2 separate regions of the Homo sapiens genome follow, and region 2 is linked to region 1. The links are contacts of gene promoters, found by promoter capture Hi-C in blood cells and fetal thymus (Javierre and others, 2016). All regions are on one chromosome and are shown on one strand. The core of a region is centred on a gene start or on the middle of the fragment in contact, and the rest is flanking DNA. Distances in the headings are between cores, read along the strand shown. Region 1 holds the start of TBL1X (transducin beta like 1 X-linked). Region 2 overlaps PUDP (pseudouridine 5'-phosphatase).

Region 1 (6,207 bases), core at 2,296-4,795:
CATTGTTACTTTAACTTGCAATTCCCTAATGATATATGATGTTCAGCATCTTTTCATATGCTTACTTGCCATCTGTATATCTCTTTGATGAGTTTTTTTCTGATCGTTTGCTCTTTGATTCAGTTGTTTATTTTCTCATCGTGGAGTTTTAAGAAATATGTATATATATATACACATACATATACACATATGTACATATATCTGTACACGCACACACACACACACACACACACACACACACACACTCTAAAAAAAAATTAGAGACAAGGTCTTCTCTGTCGCCCAGGCTGGAGTGCAGTGGTGAGATCACAGCTCACAGCAGCCTCAACAGGTGTGAGCCACTATGCTGGCCTGCATATTTCAAATACAATCCTTAATCAGATATGGAATTTGCAAATATTTCCTCCCATTCTGTGACTTGTCTTCTCATTCTCTTAACAGTGTCTTTTGTAGACTTTTCAAATTTTAGTGATGCCCAACTTACCAATTTTTTTTTCTTTTACGCATCATGCTTTTGGTGTTCTAGCTACACAGTCATTACCAAACCCAAGGTCATCTAGATTTTCTATGTTATCTTCTAAGAGTTTTTATAGTTTTGCCTTTTACATTTGGGGGTATGTTCTATTTTAAGTTAATTTTTGTGAAAGATAAAAAGCCTAGTTTTTTTTTTTTTTTTGGCATATGGGTGTCCAGTTGTTCCAGCACCACTTGTTAAAAAGGATGAATTGCCTTTGCTCCTTTGTGAAAGATTAGTTAAGTATATTTGTGTGAATTCCTACTGCCTTTTAATTAAAATTTTGGGTACTGTTTATGGGGAATGCTGGTAGTATTTGTTGCAAGCAGATTCTTGTTTTCCCCTCCCTCCAGTCAATAACTGAAAATAAGTGTTTGCAACACACACACGCGCACACACGCACATGGCTAGTGCAGTGGGTTTCTGTGTAAATCACTGTGGACCCCTCGCCCTGTTATCCTTTAGCTTTCTCAGAATACACTACCTCCTTGCCGCTCTACTTTATTTCCTTGTTTTCTCCCACCTTATAGGACTGCACATTTGAAAAATCGTTGAAACAGATTAAATAACACAGTCTAATTATCACCCACCTACAGTCCATCTAGTATTTCAAAAAGAGGAATTTTGGTGATTTCACGATAAATGTAGGCGGTCTCTCTTCCTGTCTTAGGTCTTACAGTGTCCTTTGGGGTCCTGTGAGTCTATGATAAAAGATATTGACTCTTTACGGGTAATAAGGGTGGTGGGATTATGGGGATATTGTCAAACAGTCAAGATGAATTCTCAGCTCTTTTGCATTGTCAATTACAGGAGCTCAGCTGTAAATCCTGGCCACACTGGGCTCCAGTTTGAAAGTGAGGATTTCCACCACTTTCCCATACTTTAAAAGACTGGCATCTGCCAAGTAATCAAAACACACAAAGAGGCCTTTTAACCAAGTTTAGCTTGGAATTTCCAACTGCTAACCACAAGCAGGTCTGGCAAGCTAGGAGGCTGGTTGGCTGCGCAGCTACTCCAGAGTGTGCGGTAGCCGAGGGCTGCGTCCGCGTAAAGCCCAGAGCTGTAATGATGTCAACTTGTTATTTACTTTCCAAATCTGAATGACTGAGCAAGGCGAAAGGAGAATCAATCAACCACAATGTGACCCTACAGGCGGAAAAAACGCAGCACTCCCACCAGCAGGCGGTGGGGGAAGGGAAGCACGTGTAGCCAGGGCAGGGTTGCATCATGAGCTCGTTCGGGTTTTCTATTGCACCCTTCGTTTTTCTATTGCATGTAATACCTCAGCATCAGTCTGCACAAGCCCAGGGAGCCCAGGAGCAACGAAGGGCAGGCTCAAGGGAAGGCCCCACCATGTCCTTCTGGGGGGCCTTGAATGGCAACTGATACATAATAAGACACAATCTATTCTGCTGATTCACAATTATGGAGACTGTGTAAGTGTGTATTTTTTTATTGATGTCCTCTAATGATGGTGTAGCAACAGTCGTTTTGCATCATTGACGTTTTACAGCAATATTTTGCAGGGTAATTTTGAGGTCCGCCGTTTTGGTGGAGGACCGGCCTCTTAAAAACTCACCTCCGGCCGGGCACGGTGGCTCACGCCTGTAATCCCAGCACTTTGGGAGGCCGAGGCCGGCGGATTGCCTGAGGTCAGGAGTTCAGACCAGTCTGGCCAATATGGTGAAACCCCGTCTCTACTAAAAATACAAAAAAAATTAGCTGGGCGTGGTGGCATGCGCCTGTAATCCCAGCTACTCGGGAGGCTGAGGCAGGGGAATTGCTTGAACCAGGGTGGTGGAGGTTGCAATGAGCCGACAGCGCGCCACTGCACTCCAGCTTGGGCGACAGAGCGAGACTCCTCAGAAAAACAAAAACAAAAACAAAAAAACAAAAACCTCACCTTAGGTCCCCCTCCCCCTACAACCAGAACAACAAATGGTCTAGAGTTCGAGGAAGAGCAAGTGAGGTTATAGTTTAGATTGCTGAGTGTACCGGGCTCTTAGCACGAAGCTCATTATATAGTAAAGGAAGGGGCAAGAATATTTGAAAAATATTCAACGAGGCTGACCCCAGAGGTGCTGGGGAGGGGGAGTGGAGATCTGTTTAACTGAATTAAGGCTGCGAGTGGTTGGGAGTAGCCTACGTGGAGGGGAGGAAGGAGCGCTGGGGACTTAGGTACACCGGGGCCAGGCCGTGTAAGCCATTGCAACATAAAGCACTTTGCAAGGGCCAGAGGGCTGATGCCTGGGGGGTTGGGGTGGGAGTGATGAGGCCCGAGTGCCCAGGTCCCCCCAACCTCCTCAGCCCCCACACCCGAGTTCCTGGCGCCTATGCCTGTGTGTCTGAGTTTGTCCCTAAGCATTTCTGGCTCTTCTTGGGAGGTGTTTTGCAAAGGTCGAGGCTCCGCCGGAACCCCCACTTTTTGAGCTGGGGTAAAGACTACTGGGGTGTCTTCTAAGACGCCGATTTTGAGGGAGATTCACCATCGGGCAGGTGGCAGGGGGTTCTGTTGGGGCAGCCGGGTGGCTTCCTTTTTGGGGTGGGGGAGGGTAACACTTTAGCAGTGATCGAGGTTCCCCTGCCCCCTAGAAACTGAGGGGGTGGCCGAGGTTCCCGTCCCCTCGAGGCAGTCGTGGAAAGGCTGGGTTTGGGATGTGATGGGGGTAGCCCTGGGGTCCTCTCAGTCCCACGGAGGCCACGGGGAAGGGACCGGGACCAGAGCAACTAGGGAGAGGCCCGGGTTCCCCTCACCCACCCTAGGCGTGGGGGAGCGGGGCGGGCTTGGTAGGGACGCTGGTCCCCCGACCGTGGGACAGGGGCTGGGTTGGGACGCGGGTCCCCACTAGGAGCCGCGGGGGAGGGGCAGGGCCGGAGTCCCTACCCTCGTAGGGGAGGGGCTGGTTCGGGACGCGGCTCCCCCGGGGCGCAGGGGCGGGGCCGGGTGGTACGCCGGGTCCCCTCCCACGGCCGTGAGGGAGGGGCCGGCGGCGGGGGCGGACCCCTGGCGGTCCTCCTGGCTGGGGTCCGCGCGCTCGCGGCAGCTCCCCGTGGAGGTCACTGTCCGTGCCAGTCCCTCCCGCTGTCCCGCCCTCTCCCGCTGCCGCCGCCGCCGCCGCCGCGCCCGCCTCAGCGCCCCCACTCCGCGCTTGGGAGCGAGGAGCCGCCAGCGCCCCCGCCCCGCCGCCGCCGCAGCGCCCTCAGGCCGCCATTCGCCACCGAAACTTTCCAGCGCCCGCGCTCTCTCCGGGACTCGGCGGCGGCGGGGCGGGGGCGGCCCGGGGGCGGCGCGCGGCTGCTCCGGGGCGCCGGGCCCTCTTCGGCCGCCGCACGGCCGGGACTCGGAGGCTGCCGGCTGGAGGGAGGTTCGGAGCGCGGCCGGGCGCGCGGCGCCGCCACAAGTTGCGCTGCTCGCGACGAGGTGAGTGCGCAGGGCTCGGCGGGCCGGGCGCGGGGTCCGCAAACTTCTGCGGGGAGGCGGGTCCCGCGCTGACCCTCCAGGGTCCGGCCGGCGGCTCGGGGCGCCCGAACGCTCCACCCGCCCCTGGAACTCCTGTAGGTGCAGGTCGCCAACTGTCCCCGCGGCGCTCGGACTGGGGTGCGGCGCGCTCCCAGGAGCCTGAACAATACCCCGAGGTGGCCGCTCCCCGAAGTGCCGGCGCGCCTTGCGGGGAGAGACGGAGGTCGGCGGGGGGCTCCTTTGTTTTGGGGAGGGGGAAGTGGCCGGTAAGTTTAGGGAAGCGCTCGGCTTTTCCTCCGGTGCCCCTTTGTCTGCCGATTCAGGGGCTTGCTGGGCAAACCTGCGCCACCGCGGGCTCCGGGGACCGGGGTGGAGGGCGGTGGCGGGATTTCCCCGCTGTTGGGGAGAAGAGCCCCATTCATACCCGGGACGCGGGCCGGCCCTCCCGGACCCGGGTGGAAGCGCAGCCTCGCGGAGTGGGGCAAGCGGCGGGCGAGGTGGCGCGGGCCCCGTGTCTGCTCAGTTTCTGACGCGCAGAAACTGTCAAGGAAGTCGGGAGCCCCAGTCCTCCGCCCATCTCCCCGGCCTGAGCGCACGGCTGGGCTGGGGGCACCCTTGGCCCGTCGAGGGTCTGCAGAGCGCCGCCCGGGGAGAGCGCAGACCTGTTGCTGCTCCTGGGCTCTGACGGGGCGGGTGGGGTGGGTCTCGCAGATCCTGGGCCCCGGCCTTGCTATCCAGGGGGACCTTCCCTAACGATGGGACCGGTGCTCGGAGTGGAGTATGGGGAGTGCGCCTTCGGGAGTCGGCGCTGGCCGGATATGTGACAACTGTGGGTCGCTGGAGGCCCGCCTGCGCTGGGATAGGGCCTGGACTTCACGTGCGTCGCCTGTGTTCCGTCAGACCGGGGCCGGGGCTCGCTCCCTGCAAGGCCTCGTGTTCCCCCAGCCAGCTGCGTTGGACGTTCCACAAAGGTAGGGACTGACGTTTATTCTCGAGTCAGTGATGTTCTGGAGCAAAACCTAAAAAGAAACAAAAACCTACCCTCTATTGTATTTGCAACTGTTTCTGCTTTGCATTGTCATGTGTGGTTTGACCTGCCTTTTGGATGTTTTCCTCTCCTGAAACATCGCCCAGTCCCTGGTTTAACCTGGAAGGCGAGGGGGAAGGAAGGCAACCTCCCTGCTAAGGTTCCAGGCAGTGGCTTTGGTGTTGGAAGTGGCACTTGACGATTTTATGAAAAGTTTACAAGTCCTTCCTAGAAAAGATGTAATTAGGAAAAATAAAATACAGAAGAACGTTGAGTATGACGCGTTTATTTTAAAGGGTAGTCCTGTCTCAAATGTGCTGCACATTTTTGTGGAAAGCCACCAAGCTGGGTAACTAATGCAAACAACAAAAGTTGTTCATCACTGGATCACCGGCCCTTAAGGCGATTCCAGCCCTTAGTAGAACACACACCTGTAGGGCAAATATGGAGATTTGTGGTGTAGTGCTGCCACCCTCGCTCCCCAACTCTCAGGCATTTTGCCCCTTTACCTCAGAGAACTTCTCTCTGTCAGTGGTTTTAAAGAGGAAACAGTTTGCAAAAATAACTTTATTGTAGACATACTTAGAAGTGAATGTTTCAATTTCTGGAGTTTTCCCATCAATTATATCAGTACCACTGGTTCTGTACAACATCATCTTAGTTAGAAGATTTTTTTTCACCTTTTAAGGTGACGAACAGAGGCGGGAAAATGGTCCCTGCAGAGGGAGGCCATCTCCAGCAGGTCCCGAGGGTCAGGAATTCAGATTATCCGATCTACTCCTGCTGGATAGGAGCACACCTCCGCTAGAACCTGGGTCCGGCCCCCTCCCAGTTTTCTGCAGGGCGTCCAGATTCCGGTGCTCTGCCCCGCAGCAGTGCCCTGTGGGCCTCCTGGCTTAGCTGATCAGCACAGCTTCTCTGCCCAGCGAGGCAGGACCATCCTCCCACTGCTTTCCTGATGCCTTGGATTTGCTTTTTTTCCTCCCTTAGGAAAAGCAAAAAAACCTAATATGCTACATCCGAGAAGTTGTTAATCTTTCACTACCACATGCATTGAAAAATCAGTTCCACCCAGGAAGCAACACTAAAGGCATATTGTAAACACTTTTTTTTTTTTAGTTGGAAAGATAAACTTTTTTCCCCCATAACTATTTTTAGTTAGCCGGAGACTGGACTCGAGTTTTTACCTCCGGTCTTGCCCCCTCC
Region 2 (6,207 bases), core at 2,842-5,341, 2.3 Mb before region 1:
AAGTGCTGATGGAGAGGCCGCAGCAAGTTATCCAGGAGAGCTAGCTAAGATCACCGATGAAAGTGGCTACACTAAACAGATTTTCAATGTAGACAAAACAGCCTTCTATTGGAAGAAAATGCCACCCATGACGTTCATAGCTAGAGAGGAGAAGTCAGTGTCTGGCTTGAAAGCTTTAAAGGACAGGCGGACTTTTGTGTTAGTGGCTAATGCAGATGGTGACTTTAACTTGAAGCCAGTGCTCATTTACAATTCTGAAAATCCTAGTGCTCTTAAAAATGATGCTGAATCTTCTCTTCCTGGGCTTTGTAAATGGAACAGCAAAGCTTGGATGACAGCACATCTGTTTACAGCATGGTTTACCGAATATTTTAAGCCCACTATTAAGAATTACTGCTCAAAAACAAATATTTCTTTCAAAATATTTCTGCCCACTGACAACGTACCTGGTCACCCAAGAGCTCTGATGGAGATGTACAAGGAGATTCGTGTTATTTTCAGGCCTGCTAACACGACATCTACTCTGCAGCCCATGGATTGAGGAGTAACTTCAACTTTCAAGTCTTATTACTTAGGATATGCATTTCCTAAGGTTATAGATGCCATAGATAGTGATTCCTCTGATGCATCTAGGCAAAGTAAATGGAAAACCTTCAGGAAAGGATTTAGCATTCCAGATGCCATTCACAACATTCATGATCCATGGGAAAAGATGAAAATATCAATGTTAACAGGAGTTTGTAAGGAGTTGATTCCAATCCTCATGGATGACTTTGAGGGGTTCAAGACTTCAGCAGAGGAAGTAACTGCAGAATGTGATGGAAATACCAAGAGAACTAGAATTAGAAGTGAAGCCTGAAGATTTGACTGAGTTGCTGCAATCTCAGGATGAAACCTGAACTGAATAGACACTGCTTCTTAGGGACGCGAAAAGAAAGTGGTTTCTGGAGATAAAAATCTATTTCTGGTGAAGATGTTGTTGAACATTGTTGAAGTGACAACAAAGGATTCACTATATTAACATAAACTTAGTTGGTAAAGCAGCAGCAGCAGAGTTTGAGAGGACTCCAATTTTTTTTTTTTTTTTTTTTTGAGACAGAGTCTTACTCTGTCGTCCAGGCTGGAGTGCAGTGGTGGGATCTCGGCTCACTGCAACCTCAGCCTCCCGGGTTCAAGTGATTCTCGGGCCTCAGCCTCCTGAGTAGCTGGGACTACATGTGTGCACCATCATGCCTGGCTAATTTTTGTGTGTGTATTTTTGGTAGAGATGGGGTTTTGCCATGTTGGCCAGACTGGTCTCGAACTCCTGACCTCAAGTGATCTGCCTGCCTCTGCCTCCCAAAGTGCTGGGATTATAGGCATGAGCCACCATGCCTCGCCAAAAGAGAATTTTTTTGTAAAAGAAAGAATCAAGTGATGTGGCAAACTTCATTGCTGTTTTATTTTTTAAAATTGCCACAGCCACCCCAACCTTCAGCAACCACTACTCTGGTCAACAGTCAATATCAAGACAACACCTTCCACCAGCAAAAGAATTACAACTCACTGAAGGATGACATGATCCCTAGCACTTTTTTTTTTAAAGCAATAAAATGTATTTAAGGTTATGTACATTTTTTAGACATAATGCTATTGTACACCTAATAGAATACAGTATAGTATAAACCTAACCTTATGTGTACTGGGAAACCAAAAACTTCATGTGACTAATTTTATTGCGATGTTTGCTTTACTGTGATGGTCTGGAACTGAACCCACAATAGTTCTCACACATGCCTGTATCCAGTTTACTTAAAGATTCTAAATAAAACCATATTGCTTTTATTTGAAAGAGAGAGCTAGAAAAAAGAAAAGGATATTTTACACCTGCATGCCTAGAATCTGCTGAATATTTGTGTTGCCAGCTGGACAAAACTCTTATTATTTATCTGCAGAATTTTGCAATTTAAGTTTTACCCCCTTCTCAATTATTCTAGAAACAGAAACAGCTGCAGTGGACAACCAACCACTTACTACAAGAACTTAAGGTTGGCATGGTTCAGGTCAATTAGAAAACAGAACCAAACGGAGCTAAATCTATAATCTGATGCTGTTTCTCCAACATACAATATAGCATCTTACTCTAAATCTCTTCGGACCCTTAATAGGAACACACGTGTCTTGTGCTTTCTATATTCCAGAAGCCTTTTCAGTTTCCAGAAACAACAGATTACTCATTGATCACCCTGTAGTGAAAGGCCAATCATGGCCCCTGAGATAAGGGTTCATCTCTGTCCCAAGCCCTCACACTGGCCTCCACCCTCAGCCATCTCCTTTGCAAACGTGGAAGAGAACCTACATTTCACCTAGCAAGGGTAAAACCCAAGGGTACACTGTCAGCCTCCAGGGAAGACAGGGCAAAGAAAGAATGTGAACCTACCACCAGAGTTGCTTTGACATCCAGAGCAAGACCCATTACAAATGATGGAAGGAGGGGAGATTGTGATTACGATCTCATTCCAACTAGGATCACTGCACGTTCTGGGGTTAAACAATAACCACCTATGGAAGCATGCAGAATGATCCTTCACTTTGCTCCACCTTCCTCAGAAATGTGCCAAAACTCTTAGAAATCCCACTTGGAATGAATGACTTGATAACATCAAGTAGTAAGAACCGACTGAGGCTGAAAAGCTTGTCAGCTGCACTTTTAAACCTCAGACGTATTTCATGGGGTCAAATGACAACATACATAGATTCTTCTGACAATCCACCTAGGGCATGCGCTAATATTACGTAAGAAAAATCTATTTTTGTCATCAGCTATATAGATGTTCTGGTGTCTAAAGAAACAGCCTACATGAAGTTAACAAAGAATGACAGCGCAAAACACACTCACGCTATGTCTGTGGAATTTTGGCCACACAGTGGACATGACTGTCAACTGTCTCAGGCAGCCCACAATCCCATCAGTACTGGGCTTGGTAATCCCCACAGAGACCCTACCTCCATGACCTTTTAGGGTCTCCTGGGCCCCAGACAGTGAGGCAGGCACTTATAGTCTCAAGTGCTATTATTTGGCAAGGAGGAAGCTACGGGAGTGCAAAAAGGCACAGAAGAGGTCTTCATTTTACTAAAGGTGAAGTAGAAGTCACTCATTAAAATCCTGCAATCTGGATTTATAAAGATATGGTATATTATGGTCAACACTGCAAATGTTCTTATTACCCTTCGCAGATCTACCTTATTATTTTACGATATTTAAGAAACTGGAAATAAGCTTATTTTCCTTTGATTTTAAAAGGATTTTAAATAATTCTGTATTAGACTCCAAGAAAACACATTTTACACATACCACATTTTACATACACCAAAACTCCTAATTCTGAATATTCTTAACACCCACCCTCTGCCTGACCCTCCCAGCATAGCCATTATCAACAGACATCTTGGGTTGCTCCACAAAGACCTAGACCCATGCTGTCCAAGCCAGTAGCCACCCACCAAATGAGGCTACAGAGTGCCTGAAATGAGGCTAGTTCAAACTAAGATGTGTTGTATGTATAAAACACACACAGATTTTGAGGACCTAGTATCAAAATTAATGTCAAACACTTCAAAGATTTTCTTATACTGACTTTGTATTAAATAATATTTTTGATACATTAGGTTACATAACATACATCATCCAAATCAATGTCATCTGTATCTTTTTACTTATTAAAAATTGCTCCCCAAAATTTTTACCTGGCTCAATTCTATGAGACAGAACTGCTCTGGACAACAAACTGTCTTCTCTTTTAAAGAAATTGGGACCATCTTTTGTGTTCCTAATTTCAGTTATTTACAAACAGAATAATCTTCCCTGTCCAGCTGCTGAGATACTGTTTAATAATTGTCATCTTCTTATTTCAAAATCATCCCAGTTTTTAACTAATCCCACTCCCCTACTCTCTTTCTCTGAATGGCATTTGAGAGCCAAAATTATTAATATTACCTAAATCATAACTGACTCTTACCTTGGTCATGAGAAACAGAAACCGAAGTGTATTTTTTTTTTTTTTTAAAGGACAACTAACAGCATCGTGCATGTCAAAAGCATGGGAAAGTGTCCTGGCTTTCTTCCTGGTCAACATTTCCTCTAAAATCTCCATTTACTTCCTCATTCTCCTCTGATTAAACAATCTTCTCCTCTAATGTTAACAATCCTCCATGAAACTATTCGTTTTCAATTTTACTTCCCCAAGTATGCAAGTATTGGGGCTACATAGACAAACAGAACTTCCTAGAAAAATGCATTCAAAATTCCCGAAAAACAGACCTATTGTAAAATAACTCATTATAAATTGATAGTATATTGTTATGCAAACAACAGATACACTGAAGTGAGGTGCTAAAGAATGACAGCAGGCATAATCTGGTAGATTAAATTAAAGTGGCACATCTTGGAAAGCTGTGTTTTATATTTACACATTTGGTGAAAGAATGGGATAAACAAAGGTATATTTCCAAGAAAGTTTTGCAAGGCCTTACCACCTCAAAGAAGAGGTAGGGCAGGAAAGGAGGAAATGGGCAGAAAATGAGGGGGGGGAATAAAAAGAAGCAGGGCTTATTTTTCCAAATAGCACTAATTCTTGGTTATCTGACTAGATCAGAGGATTGGGTAACAATGTGAGGTCAATGCTTGTAATGCCATTTAAGTCACATTCATCACTTCAGGGCATGGCTATGTGTGAATCTAGAATCAGAATTAGGCACCAAGCTCATTTAGAAGTTTAATAAATTTAATTTTAATGAGACATCTTGTTTGGTATTAAAATTCATGAGACTCCCAGAACAGGTTCTCTGGACCTTTATTAGAGGATAAGAAATTTATTTGACAATTTAACTTTTTGACCACCGGAGTAGGAAAATTCATGTCTACAAACTATACCTATGTATCCCACAAGCTTTCTGAAATTGAGTCATTTCAAATTTAGTAGCTGCATACACCGTTGGCTCCAATTAGTGACCTCTACGGGGATTTTTTTTTTCCTTTGGAATTCATCAGTTTACACCTCTGTGTTCATAAAATGAAGAGAATGGTTTCTGCATGCCTTTTTAAAAGGAAACACTGCTAGGGAATTACCCAGCAATATGATGAGCAGAAACAAGGTCACATTCACAATTTAAGATGAGCTCAACATCATTTATATTTAGAACTGGATCAATCCAGAATCGTTTCTCAGCTTGGCTTATTAGCTGTGTGACCTTGGGCAAGTAGCTTTACCTCTCTGAGCTGCAGGGTTTTTTTTTTTTTTTTTTTTTTAATTAGTGACATGCAAATACTTCCTCCTAACTTGCAGGGTTTTGAAATGAAGGAATGATATACGTAACCAAGCAGGTCAGCTGTCTACAAAGAGTATGCAGACATGTTTATAGATATATGAAGCCTCCTGGTGATTATGTGTCATAGTGTTAACTGTGTCAAGGCTTTCGGTAGAGCTCAGCATAGTTCTGTCTTGAGTTAAAAACAGGGTTTTATTCTTTGAATTCTACTTGAATTCCTCTTGGCTGGTGAAGTTCACATGTGCTAAGACTGACTACCTTAGTACACTGCCAAGGGTTTCTTAATGCCTCGGATTGATAGAGCAGCTGTTCTCAAACGTTCACGCGCTTAAAATGCAGATTCTGATTGGGCAGGGGTAGGGTGGGGCCCCAGCTTCTACATTTACAAGTAGCCCACAGGTGATGTCCCCGGTGCTGGTCACCCTAGGCAGCCAGGCCACTTGACGGACCTTCTGTGCCTCTACACTGTTGACGGCGCGGGATAATTCCTTATGGTTGCATAGGGCACTCCTGTGCACTGCGGGAAGTTTAACAGTATCACTGGTCTGGACTCCACTAGATGCCAGTGACCCCATCACTCCTCGCCAGCTGTGACAGCCAAAATGTCTCCTGACATCGCCATTGCCAGATGCCCTCAGGGCTGCAAAACCGCCAGGTAGAGAACCGCTACCATGCAGGATGCTACCATCAAAGTGCGCCCACAGCAGCAACCTTGGAGCAGGCAGGCAAGTATCCTCCAGGCTACTTTGCAGACGGGGAAGCTGAGGCTGGGCACCGCTCAAGGTCGCACGCATGCGTAACCGAAAAGAGAGCGCGGAGGTCCCGCCGCGCCTCGCTCTGAGGAGAGGACGCGGAGCCGCGCGCCCGCCCGGTGGACCCCAGGGACTGCTCCCACGTGCT

Evidence for each region. The method cuts DNA at HindIII sites, captures the fragments that hold promoters and counts their contacts. A CHiCAGO score of 5 or more calls a contact.
Region 2: a fragment that was not itself captured here is called in contact with the fragment with the promoter of TBL1X in region 1 in 1 of 17 cell types (activated CD4 T cells); the score reaches 5.3 in activated CD4 T cells.

Annotation. Positions count from the first base shown.
Region 1 is chrX:9,461,513-9,467,719 of GRCh38, forward strand. TBL1X (transducin beta like 1 X-linked) reads left to right here and starts at 3,546. Exons shown (of 18, transcript NM_005647.4): 1 at 3,546-3,935. RefSeq lists enhancers at 1,477-1,771, 2,146-2,974, 2,802-3,001 and silencers at 3,232-3,811, 3,932-4,071, 4,372-4,521. The HindIII fragment of the contact is 11,363 bases long and covers 1-6,207 here.
Region 2 is chrX:7,141,571-7,147,777 of GRCh38, forward strand. All of the region lies in intron 1 of PUDP (pseudouridine 5'-phosphatase), which reads right to left. It overlaps STS (steroid sulfatase), which reads left to right and starts at 6,142. Exons shown (of 11, transcript NM_001320752.2): 1 at 6,142-6,207. RefSeq lists a silencer at 6,103-6,207. The HindIII fragment of the contact is 1,669 bases long and covers 3,258-4,926 here.